Linked DNA regions of Homo sapiens: region 1 is linked to region 2. Evidence: promoter capture Hi-C in 16 types of primary human blood cells and fetal thymus (Javierre and others, 2016). All regions are on one chromosome and are shown on one strand. The core of a region is centred on a gene start or on the middle of the fragment in contact, and the rest is flanking DNA. Distances in the headings are between cores, read along the strand shown.

Region 1 (3,282 bases), core at 310-2,809, 130 kb after region 2:
TTTTATGGGTGGAAACAGAAGTACACAGGCCTTTGATTTTAAAATAACCAAATCAGCTTTTTCTAACTTAATTCTCACCATTAAAAACTTGAATAACCAGTGAACTTTTAAAAAAGCTGAAAGACAAAAATAAGAGTATTTCAAAGTCTCTATTCTTTAGAAACGTTCAGATAACCAAAATTACAATAATTAGAAGCCCTGACATACATTTTAACATTATGCGAGTTATCCTGTTATTAAGTGAGTTTCATATTAAGTAATATTTACAGACCTCACCTATTAGATATTCATTGAATCTGGGGGAGCTGGAAAATACCATTTTAATTTTTAAAATTTTTAACCTAGCCTTTAAGACAAGATGAGTTTATCCTTGAATCATTTCTCTTCATTGTGTTGAAGAGTATTTTAGTATTGAGGTCTGCAAAATTCAAATCGGGAAATACTTGAAAAGTTAATAAAATTACTAGAACCGTGACAAATTCACTTTGTGCCATAATTAAACTTTCTGTGAAAACTCACCAAGTAATTTTTGGTTTGTTGTCATTTTGGTAATAATGATCTTTTCAGCTAAAATTTGTAATTGGTTTCCATTTATACACTTCTACCCTTTCAGCCTGAAATGATGAGTTCCTGGCTAGTTAATAACTCCAGTCAGAAAACAATATGATGCCTACATAATAAGTGTTTGTGCTGTTTATTCAAATTAGTCATATGATAAAGGTAGATCTGAGATTGAGATTTGCCATTTTCTTTCAACCTAAGTGCATTTTTGAGACCAAATACTTTAATTCATTTGTCTTAAAGTATCCTGTCTTGCATGGGATCAGTTTTTCTTTTAAATTTTATCAACCACTACAAAATCAAGTCAGTAGTGAGAAAAAAAAGTTGTTTTTCAGTATGATGAAATATTTTAAAGCTAAATACCCTGAGACTCTCACTATAGTATTTTTTAAATGTCAATTATATGTGAGCCTTTTCGTTTATTTACCTGATTTGTCTTAAAAAACGATGTATAACTTCTTTCACACTTTGAAAATTTACCTGAAGGAGTAGATATATACGTGGTTCTTGTTCTGCCCTCTGGAGCAACTGAGATATACTCTGTCTTACATATGACTGCCTGTCAGATAGCTGAAGATAGTCATTACCCACAGAGAAGGAAGACATCAGTTCTACATAAGGAAGTGTTCTGTAGATAAGATCATGCTTTCACTTTGGTGAAGATTAGTGGATATTGCCAGGTAGACTCAAAGGGTATTCCGGACACAGCCCCTTGAGGAAAAGGCAAAGAAGTTTGAAATACACTCTGCATTAAGAAAATTATATGTAGTTTGATGTTGGAAGAGGGGAGGAAAGAGTGTGCCTCAAGAAATAAGGTAAGAGAGGTTGATACCCTGGAGAATAAATGATCTCGTAAATCCATTATGTAGAGTTTAGACTAGATACTGTAGGCTTTTCTTAGCCAGGCCTTCCTGAGAGAATGAAGCCCTTAATACCCTAAGTGATCCATTATTGGTAATAAATTAACTTTATCCTATGCATCTAAAATGGTAGTTATGTACCATTTTAGGAGAGGATGGAGAAAATAATTAAATCATTTTCTGTGTTTTGTGGTTCAGATGATAAACCCTGGTTGAGAACGGTAGAAATATCAGAAATTTTTTAAATGAAGATTTTTATATAAAATAATTAGGTTTTCATTCTATAACAATAATTCTGATGGAGGTACAGTGGCTAGAATAGAGGAATGTGAAACTAAAGTCCAGGAGACCAGGAAAGCAATATGTATAAAAAACGAAAGCCAAAAACTAATAGTAGTGAAAGGTTATGGAGAAAAGATGGGTGGTAAAGAGATGATTTTAAGGAGGTTTAGGACCTCAAGCGCTAAGACGTCCTCACGGCTGCTCACAATCCTACTGCTTTCCCTAGTCAATTCATTTTCTCACTCGCCAGAACAGTTAGTTTTTGTCTTAACAAACAATCCTTCCTCATCCTTACCCGGTTTATCTCTGTCTTTGAAACACTTCCTCTATTTGGCTTCTTTGACTATATTTTTTTTTTGGACTACACTTTTCTACTGTTGTGTTCCGCTGTCTTCACTGGTCTCTCTTTCCTAATTTTCATGCTAGATTCTCCTCATGTTGGCTTTATTGGCTTGTCCCACAGCCCAGTCCTCAAATACCATCCTTTCTTCTCTCTGTATACTCACTCCTTGGATGATGTCATTCACTCTCTTGGCATTATATACACCAAGACACCCACCACACGCACCCCCATCCCTGACTTCTTCCCTGGACTCCACACTTGGCTATTTAGTTGCTTACACTACATATGCGTTTCAAATTTAGCAGTCTTTTGTTTCCATCCTCTGTAAATTTAGATTAAGTCTAACATACTAGAGGATGTGGAAATCATAATATGTGAATAACAGTTAAAATTTGTGTTTATCTTGGAGAAGAAAAAAGACCAAGAGGAGGAAATATGACCATCACCAGTCTCAAATTCATAAAAGCACATTTTTTTCTTTGAATTGGCGGATGTAATTTGTGACTTTCCTATTCTTAGGTCCTCTGTTTCAGTGAAATGATGTGTATTTTTGAATTTGTGTGTGTTTTAAGTTTGGGAGAAGGTAGGTAACTTTTTTTTTTTTTTTTTTACTATATTTTAGGTGGCTGAATATACTATTCTAGAAGGAAAACTTCAAAAAACTCTAATTGACTTGGAGAAGCGAGAGCAGCAGCTTGCTAGTGTGGAATCAGAGGTATGTCATTCGTCCATTGTATTTTTTTTCAGCATAGAGGGGTTTATTGCAAAGTAGAAATACTATTTTAAAAGTTAGATGCAAAAGAGTCCCGAGAGAGAAGGGACTCAGGATGGGCTGCTTATAAGAATGAGACAAGCAAAGACTGGAATAGAGGCACTCCATTTATGAGAGTCTTACATAATTATTTACAAAGAGGTGGAAAGTGGTGTTATTAGTAAGTATGTCATCTATCATATATCTTTATTTCACAGAGTCTATATATGAAATTCATACTGTTTATTACTTTGTGCTCTATATATTTCATGAAAATTGTCTTTTAGACATGCAGAAAACTGCTATTCAAACTGCTATTCAGCATATCTTATATATTAAGAATAGGTCGAAAAGTATGTCAGAGTGTTTAAACTTAATAGTGTAGATTTGTGCCTAATACCAAGGCTGTATTCTATGCGATTAGGCAAGAATCAGAAGTTTCTAAAAGAAGAAAAGAAACTTGGGCATATTTGCTTACACACTTA
Region 2 (3,562 bases), core at 196-2,695:
TTGCAAAAAGTAAAATAATGACTTATTTTCTTAATTCATTAAAAATAAGTACATTTTTAATTCTCTAATTTAAAGTAAATATTTTAATAGAAGATTTAAAAGGAGCCACTGACCAGCCTGGGTGCTTACTACAAAAGAGTTGAAAGTAATTCACACAGTGTATCAACAGTAGCTGTCTCCCACACACACAGGCACACTCACTCTCTCCCCCATCTGAACTTTTCCTCCCTAAAACATGAGGTGGGAGAAGGGGAATGACCATGACACAGGCCTCACTACCCCCACCCCACGAGTAGACACACATCTCCCTCCTCATCCTGCTGAAAAGAAATGTGGAGGCTGTGGACCAAGAGACCCGATGCTTCTCAGTGTCACTTCCCCTGCATGTGGGATAAACAAACAAACCGGCACCATGAGAGTAACCATCAGAGTGATTTTGCTAACCTTTGACTAATGTCTTGGTTAAGTTTTGAGCTGAGTCAAAGCTCTAAGAAACAGGTAAATCCCTGTGTCCCCCCACCCAACCCCTTAAACACTCCAACGGGAAGTTTATCCCTGAGCTGAACGCTGGCCCCCGTCGCCTCCTCCCAGCCTATCCATGCCTCCTTCCTGCCTGAAGCCCCTACTCCAAAGGTAATTGTCTGGACACAGTCAAGGAGCACCGTGGGCGACACTCCCCACCTCCCAATCTCTCCTAAGGAAGCCCCCGCCGGCCCAGTTGGCCCACCTCCCTCGCCGCCCCAGTCGCGCCGCACCACTCCGGCAACTTTTGCACCCAGCCCGACCCGCCACCCGCGGCCCCCGCTGCCCCCTAGCCCTCCGCGCCCTCAGCCTCCGACCGCGGCCCCCTCCTGCCCACGCCTCCGGGCCACCCGCCATGGTCCTCGCCCACCCCTCCCCCGACACCCGCGCCTGCGGCGCCGCCCCCGCCGCACCCCACCCCACCCGCCCGGGACCCCAGCCCCACCCGGGAGGGAGGGCGCCGCGGCCGCGCCGAGGCAGCCGCCGGGCCGGGGCTGGCAGCGGAGCACCTACGCGCAGGGGGCTTTACCTCAAAGGCGCGGCCGCGAGCAGAGGGGTCGGTCCCGGGCGCGGGCGGCGCCCCCAGTCCGTCAGCGCCGGCGGGGGCAGCGGCGGCGGCACATCACACCCGCCGGCGGCCGGAGGAGGAAAGCGAGCCACGCAGGGAGCGAGCGAGCGAGCGAGCGAGGTAGGGGGGAAGGAGCGAGAGAGAGAGGTAACGCAGCGCTGCTCGGATTCGGTCCCTGCACTGCCGCTGGTGCCTCCTACCGCCGCCGCTGGCCGGAGAGTCGCCGCCCGAGCCTCTGCTGTCGCCACCGATGCAGCCCGGAATGAATGCACAGCAGCGCCTCGCTTATCCGGAGGTCAAACATCCTTCTGCCTCGGGCATCCGGATCGACGCCGGACCCGGAAGTGAACACATGGAAAAAAAATTAAAAAGGAAAGCGTCTGTTTAGCGGCGGCGGCCCCCAAGCTGCCCGCATCAGCGAAAACAGCCGAGTAGAGCCGAAGATTGCACCAACCTTCTTGGATTGGTCGGATCGCCGACCGGAAAGGAGACGGCGCGGTCATTGGCTGGCAAGGTGTATAAAGCCTAAGCCGCGCCCTATCCCCGTCTTTCTAGAGCCGTGCGTGAGGGAAAGTGGGGAGAGGCTGTGGATACGAGTGTTTCTCTGGATGAAGCAGTGGGCGGAGAAGCATAGCAAAGTCTACGCAGAGAACTGGAAGAGAACACCACCATGCTTTAGGAGAGCTACTAAGAACTGAGTGAGCAAAGAGCCTTAAGGGTACCATTGTGCCAAGTCAGGGTGCTGAGGCTTTCCCTGTTGTGCTCAGCCCGCCAGGTTCCAAAAAAATCTTAGGGCCCGGCCTAGGAGTATGACATCACTGGGTTGACATTTTTCCCCGCTTGTTTGTAACCCCAGTGCCATATCAGGGCTCCAACTGCTTAGAAATGTGAATTATGGCTCACATTTGCGTCTCATTTGCTGTTTGTAAGCTGAGGTAATCCTCTGAACTATATAGTGTGGCATTACCTGTTTTTCAAATTCACCTCCCAAAGTTCTGAGAAGCCAAACATCACCCAAGTTATCAAGTTGCAGCGCACAAACTGAAATCGGTGTTTCTGACTCACACTTAAGTCCACTCTGCCTACATAGAAAGACTGCATTCCTTTCATTTTCCCTCTTGCAGTTGCTTCCCTGGGATGGAGATAAGTCATTTTGGTAGACTTCTATGGAAATTGATCCACCATGAAGGCATGGAAACTATAATTTTTTAAAATTGTGATTCTTATGTCTCAAGTCCTTTCAAAAGTTAGGCATTAAGGTGTGCAGGAAGAAGAATCAGCCTGGTGCCATGTTTTTTAAATGTTCATTTTATCAAACCCGTTTATATTCTTAATATACTTACTGTATCAAGAAACTTGAGTCTTGTGTATCTCTATCTCTCCTGTCTACCTCTCAAAACGAAAAGACTAATGAAACAAATGCACTCCTTCATTTTCCTCCCTGCTTTGCTAGATTAACGGTATAGCTAATGTGTTACCTTTGGAAGGGTAGTTAGTATAGAAATCTGTTTTTGATTTTGGTTTGTAATACAACAGTGCCTTTTTTTTAAACCTCTCTTCTCACTTCTTCCCCAAACTGGAAGTTAAGAAGTGACTAGCATCACCAGCCTTAGAAGGGTAGTGATAAGAGCTTTGCTCCATGCTTACCACACCATCATTCTGTAGGAGACTCAAAAGCAGCTAAGATGTATGCATGCTCAGAATTGTGAATGACTTGCCTAGGGCAGATGACATATCCCAGAATTTCTGATCTCTCCCAGGACCCACTAATAGACAAGAAACAAAGTTAACAACATCTCACTCAATAGAAGAGAAGTGTCTGCAACACAGGAAACTCTAAATATTGTCCTCAACTCCCAACAAACCATTTTATTCTCTCTACCTCAAAAAACTCAGTTTTGATAAAGAACACCCACTCTTCTAAGTTTTCATAAATGGTTGAGAAAGTCAAGTGTATAAATATATGATCAAAACACATTTTTAAATTAAAAATGGGCTGGTCTAAGTACGGTGGTACTTACAACGAATTGCTCACAACCAGTTACAGATTTCTTTGTTCCTTCTCCACTCCCACTGTTTCACTTGACTAGTATTTATTAAATTATATTAGAAACGTATGGGAATAAATGTTTACATTTTTAACACTGCAGGGAAGACTTTTGGTTAAAATTTGGCCTATAAGCTCCTATAGATTAAAATTGGCAAAGCCTGGTGTAGTGGTGAATGCCTGTAGTCCCAGGAACTTGGGAGGCTTGAGGCAGGAGGATCTCCCAGTAGTCTAAGGCTAGCCTGGGCCACATAGTAGGATCTTTTCTCAAAACAAAAAAAAAAAAAAAAAAAGCAAGTAACCTAGGTAGGAGGCAATTAAATTTTCAGGTCATTCTATTAACTTATAAGAAAAATTGGTTTGGGAGGCCGAGGCAGGTGGTTCACCTGAAGTCAGGAGTTCAAGACCAGCCTGGCCAATGTGGC

The links. The method cuts DNA at HindIII sites, captures the fragments that hold promoters and counts their contacts. A CHiCAGO score of 5 or more calls a contact.
Region 1: a contact is called between a fragment that was not itself captured here and the fragment with the promoter of CSNK1G3 in region 2, in 1 of 17 cell types (non-activated CD4 T cells). The highest score is 6.2, in non-activated CD4 T cells.

Annotation. Positions count from the first base shown.
Region 1 is chr5:123,377,815-123,381,096 of GRCh38, reverse strand. CEP120 (centrosomal protein 120) reads left to right here. Exons shown (of 20, transcript NM_001375405.1): 15 at 2,669-2,761. Among named protein-coding and RNA genes, the nearest start is that of CEP120, 44 kb to the left of the region's middle. The HindIII fragment of the contact is 4,009 bases long and covers 1-3,282 here.
Region 2 is chr5:123,510,060-123,513,621 of GRCh38, reverse strand. CSNK1G3 (casein kinase 1 gamma 3) reads right to left here and starts at 1,445. Exons shown (of 14, transcript NM_001364140.2): 1 at 1,052-1,445. RefSeq lists enhancers at 124-273, 1,304-1,513, 1,674-1,733 and silencers at 794-863, 1,034-1,123. The HindIII fragment of the contact is 13,359 bases long and covers 1-3,562 here.